Linked DNA regions of Homo sapiens: region 1 is linked to region 2. Evidence: promoter capture Hi-C in 16 types of primary human blood cells and fetal thymus (Javierre and others, 2016). All regions are on one chromosome and are shown on one strand. Each heading gives the region's core, a stretch centred on a gene start or on the middle of the fragment in contact. The rest is flanking DNA. Distances are from core to core; before and after follow the strand shown.

Region 1 (5,258 bases), core at 1,445-3,944, 590 kb after region 2:
AAGTTGAATTTCCTTTGATCTAGGAGACAAGGGCAGTCATCTGTCAAGCTCCTTGACGTATTTTTGCTTGTTCACATATCCAGACATTGTGAACCCAGAAAATCTGAGGCAGGTCTCAGTTAATTTAGAAAGTTTATTTTGCCAAGGTTGAGGATGTGCCTGCGCCCGTGACACAGCCTCAGGAAGTCCTGACGACATGCGCCCAAGGTGGTCGGGGCACAGCCTGGCTTTATACATTTTAGGGAGACATGAGACATTAATTGCTTTATGTAAGAAGTACATTGGTTCGGTCTGGAAAGGCGGGACAACTTGAAGCAAAGGCAGGAAGACTCAAAGCAGAGAAGTTACATTCTTTTGAGTTTCTGATTAGTTTTTCCAAAGGAGGCAATCAGATATGCATCTATCTCAGTGAGCAGAGGGGTGACTTTGAATAGAATGGGGGGCAAGTTTGCCCTAAGCAGTTTCCAGCTTGAGGTTTCCTTAGTGATTTTGGGGGCTGAAGATATTTTACTTTCACAATATCATAAGACTGCTTCTTAAGATCCATGGTCCTCTCGAAGAGGCCAGTATGAATCAACATCGGTGGGTGTTCATACTCACTTTAAACTTAAAGATTTAGGCCAGGTGGGGTGGCTCAAGCCTGTAATCTCAGCACTTTGGGAGGCTGAGGCCGGCAGATTGCTTGAGGCCAGGAGTTCAAGACCAGCCTGGGCAACATGGCAAAACGCAGTTTCTACCAAAAAACAAAAGAAAACAAAACAAAACCCAAAATTAGTTGGGTGTGGTGACTTACACCTGTAGTCCCAGCTACTTGAGAGGCTGAGGATCACTTGAGTTTGGGAAGTTGAAGATACAGAGAGTGGAGATCATCCCACTGTATTCTAGCCTGGGTGACAGAGTGAGACCCTGTTTCAAAAATAAATATAAATAAATATATATAAAGATTTAAGCTTAAGGCCGGGCGCAGTGGCTCACACCTGTAATCCCAGAACTTTGGGAGGCCGAGGTGGGTGGATCACAAGGTCAGGAGTTTGAGACCAGCCTGACCAACATGGTGAAACCCCATCTCTACTAAAAATACAAAAATTAGCCAGGTGTGGTAGGGCATGCCTGTAATCCCAGCTACTCAGGAGGCTGAGGTAGGAGAATTGCTTTAATCTGGGAGGCGGAGGTTTGCAGTGAGCTGAGATCGTGTCACTGCACTCCAGCCTGGGCGACAGAGCAAGACTCCATCTGAAAAAAAAAAAAAAAAAAAGATTTAAGCTTAAAACAAAAAGCAATAGATGATATTTGTGGGAGACATTCATGCCTCTACTCTCTTAAAAAATAATGAATCATTCCCCAAGTCCTCATTTTACTTTCATATAATCTAGACCTATGGCAGCTAATAAACCTCTGTGGAGTTTGGGTGTTTCATGTTATAGCTATTGAGCAGAACTTTTCATATACAGTTTGTACAAGCAGCTGTCAAATCACTTAGAAGTACCATATCCCAAGCCACAGTTCGGTATCTTACTCCCAAGGATGCCAGTAGATAACTCATCAAATGCTTTACTAAAAGAGGGATATACATTGTAGCTAAAGTGTTGCCCTTTTCTACTAACCTAATAACAATGTCAAAAAACATAATTGGATTTAATTTGTTGAAACCTTCAAATGTTTTGAAGAGAGTTCATATTATTTTTCAGTCATCATTTCACATTCATCTACATACCCATAAACCATTTGTTTAACAATTCATACCATTGGGCTGTGGATTTATGTCAAACTTACTGAGGCTTGGCTGTCAGAATCTATTGCTTTTCCTTCTGTGTCTTCAGGCATCTTTGTGTTCATCGTTTTTGAAAATGTTTTTTTCTCCCATCATGAAATAATACAAACACATTACATAAAATTTGGAAGCAGAGAAAACAAGAAAAAAAAATCTCCTTCTAACTCAAATACTCAATATTTTGGTACACTAACTTCCAGCATTTTTTCTAGATATATTCTTTTTAAAAAAATTTTTAGGCCGGGCATGGTGGCTCACGCCTGTAATCCCAGCACTTTGGGAGGCTGAGTTGAGCGGATCACAAGGTCAAGAGATGGAGACCATCTGGCCAACATGGTGAAACCCCATCTCTACTAAAAATACAAAAATTAGCTGGGTGTGGTGGCACACACCTGTAGTCCCAGCTACTTGGGAGGCTGAGGCAGGAGAATCTCTTGAACTGGAGAGGCTGAGGTTGCAGTGAGCCGAGATTGCACCACTGCACTCCAGCCTGGCAACAGAGAGAGAGACCCCATCTCAAAAAAAAGAAAATCTTTATGTTAAGTTCCAGGGTACATGTGCAGAATGTGCAGGTTTGTGTATGTGGGTATATATTCTTAACAGTATCACAGTGTTGTACATGTATTTTTTTTAATTGAGACAGGTTTTAGCTCTGTTGCCCAGGCTGGAGTGCAGTTGTGTGATCTCAGCTGACTGCAACCTCTGCCTCTGAGTTCAAGTGATCCTCCTGCCTCAGCCTCCTGAGTAGCTAGGACTACAAGCGTGTGCCACCATGCGTGGCTAATTTTTGTATTTTTGGTAGAGATGGGGTTTCACTATGTTGCCCGGGATGGTTTCAAACTCTTGAGCTCAAATGATCTGTCAGCCTCAGCCTCCCAAAGGTCTGAGATTACAGGCATGAGCCACCTCACCCAGCCAATTGTACATGAATTTTAAAATACAATTTTCATTTTATTAGATTGTCCTCCTTACCATCCTATATTGTAAATATTGTTGATAGTGAACTTCCCAGGGTCACAATTACACGTTTTAACAACTTGGAATATGTTTTCCTGGGTTTCTAGCCCCTAAATTCATTTTGGACAGCTAGTTTCTTGTATTATTTTCTAGCTGGACTTTTATTCCATCTTCCTGATATACATTTTTATTTTTCAGTGTGAGTGTAATTTCTTTCTTTCTTTCTTTTTTTTTTTTTTTTTTGCTATATAGGTGTTTTAGTCTGTTCTTGGGTTGCTGTGAAGAAATATCTGAGACTAGAAAATTTACAGAGAAAACAGTTTTAATTGGCTTATGGTTCTGCAGGCTGTTTACACAGCCAGCATTTGCTGGGCTTCTGGAGAGGCCTCCAGGAAATTTTATTCATGGTAGAAGGTGAAGAGGGAGCAGGGAGCAAGAGAAGGAGCTGGGAGGAGGTGCCACACACTTAAACAACCAGATCTCATGAGGACTCAACTCACACGTGCCAAGGAAATGGTGCTACTCCATTCCTGAGAAATCTGCCCATAATCCATTCACCTCTCACCAGGTCACACCTTCAACCCTGGGAATTACACTTCAGCATGAGATTTGGGGGCACAAATATTCAAACTCTACCAATAAGTCAGAAGAAAACTAACAATTAAATAATCGGTCTCTCTCTTTGTCAGCTTTCAACCTTAGGTTTAGAAACTTCATCCTTGTAAATCGGAACAAAAATTGGGCTAACCTTTCAGGAAGGCAACTAGGCAGTATGTTTGAAGATTCTTAAATGTTTTACCCTTTGCTTAAGTAATTCCACATCTAGGACTCTATCCTAAGGAAACAATTTATTCAAAAATTTTATAAAAGGGCCGAGTGAGGTGGCTTATGCCTATAATCCCAGCACTTTGGGAGGCTGACGTGGGCGGATCACTTGAGGCCAGGAATCCGAGACCAGTCTGGCCAACATGGTGAAACCCTGCTTTTGTAAAAATACAAAAAATTAGCCAGGTATGGGTGGTGGGCACCTGTAATCCCAGTTACTTGGGAGGCTGAGACAGGAGAACAGCTTGAACCCAGGAGGCGGAAGTTGCAGTGAATAAGATAGCACCATTGCATCTGCACTCCAGCCTGGGTGACAGAGCAAGACTCTGTTTCAATGAAAAAAAATTTGTAAAAGAATCTTGGTTGCTCTGCCTATGGGGAAGCCATTCTTTTACTCCTTTACTTTCCTAATAAACTTACTTTCACTTAAAAAAAAAAAGAATCTTAACTGTACCTTTATTCATAATGGTGAAAGATAGCACCCAAATATCCCAAAGTAAAGAAATGGTCAAAATAGAGAGCATCTACATGATGTAAGATTGTGTAGACATTAAAGAAAAAAGCAAGCTTTGAAGACACAAATAATAATCTGGGAAAGTGCTCATGATATGAAAATAAAATATACAACAATATACCGAATATGATTCCAATTCTGATTATGACATATACAAATGCTGAAAAGAAATAACCCTAAATGGTGATATTATAGGATTTTTAGTCATTTCCTGTTTGTTTTCCAGATTGATTTAAATGATACTGTATTACTCTCATAATGAGAAAAGTATAATTCCATATGTACGAATCATCTTCCTTGTGAAATACAATAACTCTTCCTTCCTCTTTCCATCCTGACTTCTACACTTTATTGTCTTTGCATTTTTTCTGATCTTTATCACATCTTGGATTTAGTTTAGTCAGCTGAGCTCCTGACATTTTATGGACTTGGTTTATACTGTACTTCGTTTTTTTTTTTTTAATTTTTTTTGAGACAGAGTCTTACTCTGTCACCTAGGCTAGAGTGCAATGGCACTATTGCTGCTCATTGCAACCTCCACTTCCTGGGCTCAAGCGATTCTCGTGCCTCAGCCTCCTGAGTAGCTGGGATTACAGACGTGCACCACCATGCCTGGCTAATTTTTTTTTATTTTTAGTAGAGACGGGGTTTCTTCATGTTGACCAGGCTTGTTTCGAACTCCTGGTCTCATGTGATCCACCTGCCTCGGCCTCCCAAAGTGCTGGGATTACAGGCATGAGCCACCGTGCCCGGCCTCTATGCTGTACTTCGAATTCATCCCATGTAATATTCCCCTTCCTCCATCCTTTTTTTTTCTTTCCCAACCTGAGCTCATCAGAAAAACTTCCTGGGAAGTCATATTAGTTTCTCTGGCTGCCTCCTCATCTTCTGCACCAGATCGTCAGCAAATGCATTTCCAGAATCTTATTATCAAGCTCTCATCTGTTAAACCTCATTCCCTTTTAGGTTTTCTGGTGATGAGATCATCCCCATAATTTCTTTCTAATTCTCACAATATGTTTTTCTAAATAGTCCGTGACACTTGTGTGAAAGGTCTCAATGTTCTCTTCTTCTTTCTTTCGAGATGGAGTCTCACTCTGTCACCCAGGCTGGAATGTAGTGGTGCGATCTCAGCTCACTGCAACCTCCACCTCCCAGGTTCAAGTGATTCTCCTGCTTCAGTCTCCTGAG
Region 2 (4,965 bases), core at 442-2,941:
CAACAGCCCCAGCCACAGCAGGGCCACCTCTATCTTCCGTTGAACTGGACTACCCAGCCCCTCAGCACATCCACTGCCTTCCACATGACAAGAGAGAGGAGGTTTGGGGGTGGGGAGGTCTCAGGCACAAGCACAGATTTCACCCTGTTAGGCACCCTGGGGACCTGGCCCTGAGATGAGGTGTCCCCCAGCTACCTCCAGGGGCTGCGTTAGCAGAGAAGTGAGGCAGATCTAGGGCTTCTCAGGCAGGCAGGAGACTTCGGCATGAGGGGCTGGCTACAGGGTCTGCAAAGAGGTGCCACCAACCTGCCACTGAGATGCCTGTGGTCCTGAGATACTCTGAATCCAGGACATCAGAGCCAATCAAGGTCCCACACCCACACCCAGGCAATCCTGGCTGTTAATTGATCAAGACTTCAGGTTTGTGGAAATGAGGGGAATGGGTGTGAGGTGGCTGGGAGGGGAAGCCCCATCTTGTGTTCCCCAGGATGGATGTGGAGCAGAAGCCAGCCTCGGTGACAGCTTGTATGTGACATCTGTCAAACTGAGACAGCTCCCACTTGGGGATCCTGTCCTGGGTCCTGCTCTAACCCAGTCACTGATAATCCAGTGCAAAGTGGGTGAATCCCTTCCTTTCTGGGAACAAGGGCTTCCTTAACCACCGGCGTGCCTGGCAGGTACCGGAGGCAGCCCCGGGGCAGCCCTGGAGAAGCTAGTCAGAATATGAGCTTCTTTCCTCCCCAGCCAGGCTCCCGGAATTATTTCTCAAATCATTTTCAGTCCTAGGAAGTGATAATTTGATTTCACTTTAACATTTTTAACGAGCTGCATCTTCATCAACTGCCAAATTAGGATGAGAGCAAAGATCGGGGAATCACAATGAGAGGTTTTGGAGTGATTGGGGAAATCCAAATTTGGGGTGTGCCTGGGTGGTTGACACCTCACGCCCAGCACCTGCGGTGGGGTCCCCATAGCACCACCCTGATCACCCCCGCGAGTCCATCTCTGCTCAGTGGCTCCTGGCAGGGACACCTCCTCCTATCAACCCTTCTCACAGGCGGGAGAAGGAAGCCCCGGGTCCCACGAGCTGGAGAAATGAGGCCACCCTGCAGGCTGTGATAAGCGGGGAGTTGGACCCGCATAGGCCGACAGCCCAGCTCAACAGGTGGTGGTGGGCTTATCCCTTCCTGCATTATCCGGATAATAATCTGCCAGCCCCATTCAAGTCCGTCGTGGAAAAGTCTGCCCTCAGCTTTGGCATGGGTAAATTGCCTAGAAGCGACTGCAAAGAGGGGGCGTCATCATCTCCCCCGATACATCCTTGGGACAGACAGATGGACAGACAGACACACGCACACGCGCATACACACGCCCGCGCTCCCCACCACACTGCCCCTTCCAGGGTGCGCGATCGCTAGGGCTCTCCAGCCCCTGCCCCTGGCTGGGCTGTCATGGGGGCGCAGCCCGGCGCCGCGGCCCAGCACCGGTGGGAGACCGTCCCCCAGGGACCCCCCCAGGATGGAAGAGGTGGTCTCTCCCGGTCTTCCCGGCTCTTACCTCGCTGGAGCGGCCGCGACCCCCGACCCTGGTCCAATGTCCCTCGCCGGCTGGGCGCGCGGGGCGGGAGGTACCGCGCTAGGCTGCCCGGGACGCCCGCCCCGTCCAGTCAGCCGGAACCGCTCGGCGCCAATGACCGTGGCCGCCGCCGCCGCAGCTCGCGCCCCGGACCCCGAGAGGGAGGGGCGGGCAGGGGGCGGGGCCGAGGGCGGGGCCTCCCCACCCCGGCGCTGCCAGCTGCAGGCGGGGTTTGGGACCGGTCAGATGCGGTCTCCCAGCCCGGGAGGTGAGCACCTCTGGGGTGAGCACCCTTGTGGGGGTGGCAGGTGAAGAGTTGGGGGCCGGCGTGGGAGAGGAGAGGCTTTCAGAGTCCGCATAGGGCTGGGAGACCCTGCCTGGAGTCAGACTCACCTTCAAATTCCAGCAGCTGGGGCTGCAGCCTCTGCCGTTGCTGCTGCTTTTAAATAAGGATGATGATGATGATGATGATGATGATGATGGTGATAGAACAACAATGCCAGCTAGTATTTATTGAGCACTTACTAGTGTAAGCGTTCAATGAGCTTCACATGTATTAAGTCATTTAATTCTCACACGAATCCCATTTTACAGATGAGAAGACTGAGGCACAGGGCGCTTAAGTGAGGAGTCTGAGGACACACAGCTGGAAAATGGCAGAGCCAGGACTGCAGCTCAGGCCTGTCTAAGTGCAGAATCTGAGCCTTTAAAGCCCCACTCTGCTTTTGTACTGTGTGGCCTTAAGCAAAGTGTTTGTCCCTCTTAACAGTAAAATGGTAATATATGTCCAATAAATGGTGGCAACTAACAATAAAACATTTCTTCCTTTCTTAGGTTCTATGTCTCCTTTAGTCTCTGGGTCCTGGACACCCAATAGGTGCTCAATAGATGTTTGTTAATCTATGACTAATTTGAAAGTGGCAGCTGGAGCCAGTGTGGTCAGCCAGGTTGGAAGGGGAACCCAAGGGCTAACTCTTCCTGGCCTGCATAGCCACATATCTTTTATTGCTTTGAAATGGCAGCCTGACCGATATCTTTGTCCGGCACACTTGTGCAGATGCTCACAGACCAGCAGCTTCCCCTCAAAGGCCTGTAAAATCCCTGCAGACCAAGAGGGGGTCAAAGATGTGGCATGTGGAAATATTTGGGGGCAAAGTTGGTTGCTAAATAATGAGACATCAGCAGTGAACATATTAGTTTAAAACTGTAGGGCAGAAACTTTTATAGAAGCATCTATGTTGCTGAGGTCTCCTGACATGGGAGGACTTTGTCACATGTGAATGGGGCCAGGTGGAGTTGGGACAACTGAAGGTTTTTGGAAAGGATACACCACGTGTCTATTCACAGCATTTTAGGCCTATGCAGTTTTCCGCTTTTTCTCCCTTTTCCCACCTACCCCAAGAGTGTTCTTCTCTATCCCCCAGAATACCCTGATGGAAATCCAAGAATGGATTTCTTCTTCTTCGTCTCTGGGCCCAGGAGCCTCTTGCACAGCTCTCACCAGTATGGCAATGATGAATTTACTGTCAATCTCCCTAACTATGCTGGGAGCCCCTTAAAAGGAGAAAGTCTGACGCATAGTAGGCACATTGTATTTGCTGAATGAATGACTGGAAGTTGGACACATCTCCCCAAGACTAAAGCTGTCAAGGAGAAAACCACCAAAGAAAACCTCAGAGGTGGCTGGATCAATGAAATGAAAAGATGAAAACGGGCAAAGCACCCAGGAGATGTGCCTTTTGCAAAGTCTGCAGGTCATTTTCCCAGCAAAGGCCAGAGAGGCTGGCCTGGGATCCATGCCCTGTGGGTCACCTCTGCGGGCCGTCGCCATGTCCTCCAGCCATTGAAGAGTAAGTGTATGGAGTGGGGGTGAGCAGACTGCCTGGTGTTGGGTGTGAGGAAAGGGGTGGGTGGAAGAGGGAATGTCCTCCCTTGTGGGTTAATTGAACAATCCCAGAATGTCCACTTGCCCCCTAGATAGGCCCCCTTTTTGATCTGTGTGACCCTATTCTCTGGATCATCTTGCAATGCTTATGGAGAAATAACAGATCAATTGGTTGCAGAAAACACCCTTCAAAAGGGAAGCTAGTGGCCGGGCGCGGTGGCTCATGCCTGTGATCCCAGCACTTAGGGAGGCCAAGGCAGGCAGATCATGAGGTCGGGAGATCAAGACCACCCTGGCTAACATGGTGAAACCCCATCTCTACTAAAAAACACACAAAAAAATTAGTCAGGCATGGTGGCAGGCGCCTGTAGTCCCAGCTACTCGGGAGGCTGAGGCAGGAGAATGGCATGAACCTGGGAGGCAGAGCTTGCAGTGAGCCGAGATTGCGCCACTGCACTCCAGCCTGGGTGACAGAGCAAGACTCCATCTCAAAAAAAAAAAAAAAAAAAAAAAAAGGAAGATAGTGTCCAGGGGTGCTCAAAGCCTCCTCCCCAGTCATTCTGCCCAAGGCAAGTGGGGAAGTCCCCACAACATGGGTGGTTGAAAAACAGCAATTTGGATCTGATGGAATGAGGTCTTCAACGTGGCTCTGCCCCAACTAGCTGTGTGACCTTGGACAAGTTACTTAACCTCTCTGAGCTTTCGTTCACTTCTCGATAACCAAAGCTGGCTTCATGGTTCTCAAAGCCTTGCTCTTAGGAAAGCTCTGTGCCTGGTTTGATGATCTGATTTTGCCATCTCGAAATTCTTAATCAGTTTTCAACAAGGGGCTACATCTTAATTGTTGCACCGGACTCCATAAAATTATGTCTCTGATGCTGGTGATAACGCCAACCTCACTGGTTTGCGAAAGCGAGATCATGTTTGCACAAGGGTCTGACACATTGGGGGCTCTCAGCAAAAGTTAGTTTCCCTTCCTCTGATCTGGCCGTAAATGATAAATAGAAATTCACCAGGTAGACAGAGGGCTGGGAAGGGAGTTTCAGGCAAAGGGGTCATCCTAGACGAAGGCCTGAGAATATGAAATTACATTCAGGGAAAGGCAAATGGTCTGAGGTAGGGTGGGCATGGGAAATGGAGGGAGACAAAACTGAAGAGACAACTGGGGCCAGAGTGGGAGAGGCTCCCAGTTCTTGTAAGGAGCTTGGCCCTCAGGCCCTCAGGTCTGTGATCAGGGAGCCTGGGACGTGAAGGTGGGTGAGCAACACCAACATCTGTGTCCCACGGTTGGGCCGCGGACTGGTTCAGATAATGAGACAGGCAGTGGGTGACGTGGGCGGGAGCACTGCTCGGAGGCTGCCAATACGGCGTGTTTGAAAGGCTGACTGTAGACATAATGGGAAAATGCTGTAGGTGTAAAAGCCAACAGCTGTGCTTGGGGATTTGGGGACTCCAGGCCTGATGAATAATGGAGCAGCCCTTCCACCCTGGGTCTCTTTTTCTAT

Evidence for each region. The method cuts DNA at HindIII sites, captures the fragments that hold promoters and counts their contacts. A CHiCAGO score of 5 or more calls a contact.
Region 1: a fragment that was not itself captured here is called in contact with the fragment with the promoter of CACNG5 in region 2 in 1 of 17 cell types (M1 macrophages); the score reaches 6.0 in M1 macrophages.

The regions. Positions count from the first base shown.
Region 1 is chr17:66,239,943-66,245,200 of GRCh38, reverse strand. No RefSeq gene overlaps it. Among named protein-coding and RNA genes, the nearest start is that of APOH, 13 kb to the right of the region's middle. The HindIII fragment of the contact is 2,857 bases long and covers 1,266-4,122 here.
Region 2 is chr17:66,831,843-66,836,807 of GRCh38, reverse strand. CACNG5 (calcium voltage-gated channel auxiliary subunit gamma 5) reads right to left here and starts at 1,691. Exons shown (of 6, transcript NM_145811.3): 1 at 1,558-1,691. The HindIII fragment of the contact is 6,143 bases long and covers 1-4,965 here.